2 separate regions of the Homo sapiens genome follow, and region 1 is linked to region 2. Evidence: promoter capture Hi-C in 16 types of primary human blood cells and fetal thymus (Javierre and others, 2016). All regions are on one chromosome and are shown on one strand. The core of a region is centred on a gene start or on the middle of the fragment in contact, and the rest is flanking DNA. Distances in the headings are between cores, read along the strand shown. Region 1 holds the start of ACOT6 (acyl-CoA thioesterase 6). Region 2 holds the start of ZNF410 (zinc finger protein 410).

Region 1 (3,501 bases), core at 922-3,421, 270 kb before region 2:
AGTGGCGAGATCTCGGCTCACTGCAATCACCACCTCCCGGGTTCAAGCAATTCTCCTGCCGCCGCCTTCTGAATAGCTGGGATTACAGGCGCGTGCTGCCACGTTCAGCTAATTTTTGTATTTTTAGTAGAGACAGGGTTTCACCATGTTGGCCAGGCTGGTCTCAAACTCCTGACCCCAAGTCATCCGCCCCCCTCGGCCTCCCAAAGTGCTGGGATTACAGGCATTAGCCACCGTGCCCGACCAAGGTGCCATATTAATATGATCAGACAAACCTCTGCCTCCAGATCCTGGGGGTCTGGAGGGCATATGAAATGTACTAGGTTTACTAAAGGAGGTATCTGGGTTGGGGATGGACTGCAGGGCAGTTCTCTGGTTGGCCTTGGACTGACTCAGTTCTCCCCTCTTTCTCACTAGTAGTTCTCAAGCATAGAACGTGCTGGGAATGTAACATCCTGAGAGAGGGACGGACTGGCTGGAATAGCCCTGGCTCTATTCCAGCCCCTCCCTACAAACAGGATGTCTTTCAATGCTTTAACCCAGCAGTCACATGACCCCAGAGTACAAAACTCAGGGCAGCTGCAGTGCAAGTGGGGCACACACACATGAGATTCCATCACCCAGGCAGCATTCCTGAGCCTTGGGGGACTGGTTTCCAATGATTCTTAGGCTTCTGTCATTCTTTGCTGCCTATCTGTAAGTAATAAATCCAGTTCATGTAAATTGTTGTATTAAATATATGAATGTGTTTTCTCACTGGACTCAGACAAGTTGGTAACCAGCATACAGTGAACTTGCTTCATAGAGTCTAATACCTTTTTGTTCAGTTTATACATGTTTACTGAGCTGGGCATCACTATATGCTCTTCTTCCTTCTCCACCCTGCTATGTTCCCAGCTAGGTTGAGCTGTGTGGTTGGGTTTGGCCAAAGAGAGGCATTAGCAAGATACTGAAAAACAAGAGGAGAGTCAAGGGACTTATAGTCTCCTCCTTCCTGCCACAAACCATAGGTTCCTTCTAAAAAAGGTACAACTCCTATCAGACTGCCCCCTTCCCTTGAACCTTCAGATTCAGGGTTCTACACCGAATCTTGTTTCATTGTTTTTGTTTTTAAATCTTGCCCATGCCTTTGTAGATAGTACCTTTATAAAACTCTCCTCAATTACACAGGCTGAGAGTGCCACTTGCTTACTGCCAGAACTCTGTATGCATACAACCCAAAATGGACTCTGCCAGTGATTAGATTTGTGAGGTAAGAAACAAAACAAAACTTTCACTGGGTACTAACCTACAGGTGTGTCAGTGTAGTGTTTTTACACATTAGCCCATTTAATGGTCACAATAAGCCTTTTCAGATAAGAAAACTGAATTTAGAGGGTTATGTTTCTTGCTAAAGATCACCAGGTATTAATATTAAGGATCAGGGTCAGACCAGAACTCGGCTAGGTCTGCCTCCCTAAACATCTGCTTTGCTCCAGGTACCATTAGCCCTGGAAAAAAGGCTTGGTAAGGGACTGAGGGGTAAAGGACGGATTACGACCATGTTTCTCCAAGGGGTCACCTGAGTACAATCACCTGGGATGCTTTTTCAAAATCTAGATTCTTGGACTGTATCTCTCTCAATCCTTTAGCTCTCAGTGGTTTTTGTGCCTCTATTTCGACACTCACCACATTGGATTGCAGGAATAGTCATTAACTCTTTTTTTTTTTTTTTAGACGGAGTTTTGCCCTTGTTGCCTAGGCTGGAGTACAATGGTGCAATCTTGGCTCAATGCAACCTCTGCCTCCTGGGTTCAAGCAATTCTTCTGCCTCAGCCTCCCAAGTAGCCGGGATTACAGGCATGCGCCACCACACCTGGCTATTTTGTATTTTCAGTAGAGATGAGGTTTCACTCTGTTGGTCAGGCTGGTCTTGAACTCCTAACCTCAGGTGTGATCCACCCACCTCGGCCTCCCAAAGTTCTAGGATCACAGGCGTGATCCACCGCCCCCGGCCGGATTGGTCATTAACTCTTATTTCAGCAGATACTCTTTCATTTGGGACACTGGTGTATTTGCACAAATTCTAGGCGCCCCACGCAGCGGCCTGGAGCCTGTCCCCAAGTCCAACCAATGGGAGTAGTGTTAAGGGCTCCGCCCTCGACTACTTTCCAGCGCTCGGCAAAGCCGCCAGGCCCGCCCACTGACTCCGCGGAGCTGGGTCGCCCCTGTTCTACCCAGATTGGGATGGCAGCGACGCTGATCCTGGAGCCCGCGGGCCGCTGCTGCTGGGACGAGCCGCTGCGCATCGCAGTGCGCGGCCTGGCCCCGGAGCAGCCAGTCACGCTGCGCACGTCCCTGCGCGACGAAGAGGGCGCGCTCTTCCGGGCCCACGCGCGCTACCGTGCCGACGCCCGCGACGAGCTGGACCTGGAGCGCGCGCCCGCGCTGGGAGGCAGCTTCGCGGGGCTCCAGCCCATGGGGCTGCTGTGGGCGTTGGAGCCCGAGAAAGCCTTGGTGCGGCTGGTGAAGCGCGACGTGCGGACGCCCTTCGCCGTGGAGCTGGAAGTGCTGGACGGCCACGACACCGAGCCCGGGCGGCTGCTGTGCCTGGCGCAGAACAAGCGCGACTTTCTCCGGCCGGGGGTGCGGCGCGAGCCGGTGCGCGCGGGCCCGGTGCGCGCCGCGCTCTTCCTGCCGCCGGATGAGTAGTCTGCCCAGAATTTGGTCGAGCTCTGCGACCCCCACCGGCCCCTTTCCTGTCCTGGGAATCGCGTGATTGTGGAACATCCCTGAACTTGTTCCTTCGCTCCAGAGTCTGTCATGGATTCTGAGTCTGGGCGTCCGCTGTTGCCCAGGCTGGAGTGCCGTGGCTGGATCGTAGCTCACACTGCAGCCTCGAACTCCTGGGCTCAAGTCCTCTCGCCTCAGCCTCCTGAGTAGCTACTCCAGTCTTTCCTTTTTAAGTTTCACGTCCCTCCCTGGAGGCACCACCACTTTAGCTATGTGCTGAATAGTGCATTCAACTTATTATATATTTATTGAGAGCCACTATGTGCCAGCCATGTGGTTTTGTTTGAATACGATATGGGCAAAACCTTAAGCTGATGTGCAAGAAGGATTTTTGCCTCCTTTCACATCAAACTTCCAAAGAAGCTAAAATCCACAGTATTGGCAATGCCCTTTAATTGTTTAAAAACACACACAAAACTGCCTGACAGTCCTCTCCCTTCTATCATAAACATGCTGTACGTGGTTCTCAACCTGCAATGATTAGCCGCCCTCCCTGGGGGAAATTTGGCAATATCTGGAGACATTTGTGGTTGTCATATCTGAAGGGAGAGGTGCTATTGGCATCTAGCAGGCAGAGGCCAGAGATGCTGCTAAACATTCCACAATGCACAGGACAACCACCAGAACAAAGAATTATCTTGCTGAAAATGTCTGTACTACTGAGGTTGAGGAACCCTAGTCTAAGTAAACACAGGATGTTTGCTAGGTAAAGGTAGCCCAGAAAGAAGA
Region 2 (3,090 bases), core at 72-2,571:
ACTGTGTTGGTAATCAGCCTCCCCAGTTTTCGTGAGTGGCCCTTTTTTGTTACTTTTCCTGGACCATTTCATCGCCTGAGGGGGTTTCACTTTTCTCTGTATGTTGCTAACTCCCAAATCTCCATCTGTATTTCTGACCTCTTTCTTGAGCACTGGACCTTTACCTCCAAGTAAATATCCTCAACTCTGGATTGCATCTTATACTCTGCTTTTTTCTTTTCTTTTCTTTTTTGAGATGGAGTCTTGCTCAGTCGCCCGGCGTGCAGCGGCACGATCTCGGCTCACTGCAACCTCCGCCTCCCGGGTTCAAGCGATTCTCCTGCCTCAGCCTCCCGAGTAGCTAGGATTACAGGCGCGTGCCACCACGCCCGGCTAATTTTTGTGTTTTTAGTAGAGACGGGTTTTCACGGCGTTACCCAGGATGGTCTCGATCTCCTGACCTCGTGATCCGCCCACCTTAGCCTCCCAAAGTGCTGGGATTAAAGGCGTGAGCCACGGAGTCCGGCCTACTCTGCTTTTCTAAAGTGGAATTATCTTCCTCTGAAATGTTTCTCCTTTATTTTAAATCACCATTAGTAATTTGTGTACCCAAACCTGTCATCAAGGCTTATCTTTAACCTTGAAAATGCCTTTTTAAAGAGAACTCCTTTAATTCCCACGGTTGAGTCTCTCATTCTTCCGCACGCAAATATTTTAAAATAAGTAATTTCAAGAAGTCAGTCAAACTCACAAAGCTTTAACAAGGTGGCATCCAGCTTGGAAGTCAAGTGTTCAAGCCCGCAGTCGGGACATCCAAGAGCTCTTTACATCCTAATTACAACACGGAACCCAGACTCACTGCATACCCCGTCCCGTATATAATGCAAAACTTGATTCTGCAAGTTCCTTTCTCGGGCGGTGAAACTTCGAAGGTCCTCTCCATGGAGACCTTTGATAAATGTTTAAGCAGTGATCTTTTCTTTCGCGTTTGCCTCCATTGCAACGCCTCCGCTGATGGGAAAAACTACTCCCTCCGCTACTGCGGGGTGGCAGTGACGTCAACGAATTAGCTGACCTGTTTTTTCGGGCTTCGCGGACATAGGAGTCCCGAAGGCCGAGAGTGAGTGAGTGAGTGGGAGCGGGGCGGCTGCGGCTCCTCCTGTCCGGGGCGGAGCCCTGCGTCGCGGGCCTGGGGAGGCCCCGCCAGCACCCTTGACGTCTGGGTCCCGAGCAGTGCGGCAGCCACACGACACTGAGGCGAGCGAGTGGGTGTGTGCGTGGGGGGTCAGCCAAACTTCCTGTCCCGCGCTCGAGCTGCTTCCGGCGGGAGCCGGAAGACGCTGTGTGTGGACGGAATTCGGGACCGACTGACGGCCGGCCGGCTTCCCGGAACTGGAAGGTGAGCTCCGAGGTGGGCCTGGCCACCCCTCCTCGGTTAGGTAGTACCCGAGAGGGCGGGGGCCAGTACCGGCTACTTGGGGCCTGGGGCCGAGTTCGCCCCGAGAGAGGAAACCGCCCTCCTTGGGCATCCCTCCTGGATCTGGCGGGCCCGGGAGCGGCCAGTCTGAAGCCCTGCGGCTTTGGCCCTTCCCCTCGCGGGTTTTTAGGGGCGATGTTCTTGCTCCTTTGCTTGGTTTTGGGGGTAGGGATATAGGAACAGACTGTCCTGAGAAAGCCAGAGTCAGCGAGTCCCCGGGGCGGGGGCTCTTGGACTGCACCCGCAGCCGGGGCCTGCCTACGGACCTTGGGGCCTTATTTCTGAGGCCTTTGTGGTGTGGGGTAGAGGATGCCAGGAGGCCTTGCCCTGAATGTTTCAGTCCAGAGCTACCCTCTCCTTTCATACCACTTACTTTCTGGGTTTGGAAAAGGGACAGCTGCCTACTCGGCTGGGCTGGGTCGCCCGTTTCTCCTTTGCCTGTCAGTTCGGGGGGCAGGAGTGTGTGGATTGTTTACGGCCTTCATACATTTCGTGTCGAATTTATTTTCTGAAGTTTCTCAAGATAATCCAATTTATTAAAGTTTATCCCACTTGATCATGAGGCTCAGAAATGCATTTAGGCACCATTTGGAAGTTAAATATTATTAACTTGGGACTTAAGAATTAGTACTTAGGTTGGAACGAAGGTCAACGCAGCATATTTGCAATAAATAAAAAACATTTGGAAATAAAGTCGGGCATTTTGTTAGGGAGTGAGAAATTGCACTTGGTTTTTTCTTAGTGTGGTGCAGAGTAAAAGACAACTAAAGTAGCAGTCAGAAGTTTTAAGTTCTAGTTTTTTACGTTTTGCATCTAAGTAGATGTCTAATTTTTGGCAAGTTGCTGAATCTCTAGCTCTGGGGAGTTTTTCTGTAAACGAAGGGGTTTACCTTTAGGGCTATGACAATTTTTCCGAGGCACTGAACTTTGAGTAGAAGTGACATAAGCATTTCTTTGTTTTGGAAAGATAACTTGAATGGCTGCATAAAGGATGTATTGGAAAGAGGAATTTTAAACGCGGGGTGACCAGTTAGAGGCCTGTTTTAATAGTATAGTAGAAAGTTACTGAGAGACCTAAACAGGGCATTACAGTAGGGAACAGAGAACATTCTGGGAACAGAGAATCACGGGAATTATTTAAAAATGGAGAATGAGAGAGATTTAAAGACCTAGAATTTGCAGCTGAGTGGGAGGAAGATTGGGCGATCATTGAAATAGGTAATACAAGAAGAACAGGTTTGGTAAGGAAGATAATAATCTGGATTTTGGACATTGTTAGGTTTGAGATGCTGTTGGATATACATGTGGAGATACCTAGCAAGCAGTTAGAAATGAAGGTTTGGAGTTCAGAAGAGATGACTAGAGAAAAATGTAGGTATCATTTGTAGTGTCATTCATTCATTATACAAATATTTAGTACCTACCAGTTGCTTACTGGGAAGCTTGTATGGAAGCCCTTTAAGCTCATAGTAAACACATTAGAAGTGGGAAGTGACCGTTAATGGGCACAGGGTTTCCTTGTGAGGTGATGAAATATTGTAAAATTGATCGTGGTTCTGCTTGTACAACTCTGAATGAACTAAAGATATTTTAATTGTACTCTTTAAATGAGTCAATAGTATGGTATGTGAACG

What was found. Contacts are between HindIII fragments. The CHiCAGO score rates a contact against its expected background, and 5 or more counts as called.
Region 1: a contact is called between the fragment with the promoter of ACOT6 here and the fragment with the promoter of ZNF410 in region 2, in 4 of 17 cell types (M1 macrophages, M0 macrophages, naive CD8 T cells and 1 more). The highest score is 10.2, in M1 macrophages.

Annotation. Positions count from the first base shown.
Region 1 is chr14:73,610,346-73,613,846 of GRCh38, forward strand. It overlaps ACOT6 (acyl-CoA thioesterase 6), which reads left to right and starts at 2,172. Exons shown (of 3, transcript NM_001365788.1): 1 at 2,172-2,687. The coding sequence starts at 2,227. It also overlaps a transcript of HEATR4 not described here. RefSeq lists enhancers at 2,283-2,332, 2,350-2,849, 2,383-2,432. The HindIII fragment of the contact is 17,987 bases long and covers 1-3,501 here.
Region 2 is chr14:73,885,538-73,888,627 of GRCh38, forward strand. ZNF410 (zinc finger protein 410) reads left to right here and starts at 1,322. Exons shown (of 12, transcript NM_021188.3): 1 at 1,322-1,378. It overlaps PTGR2 (prostaglandin reductase 2), which reads left to right. Exons shown (of 10, transcript NM_001146154.2): 10 at 1-189. RefSeq lists a silencer at 982-1,261 and an enhancer at 1,312-1,381. The HindIII fragment of the contact is 2,164 bases long and covers 733-2,896 here.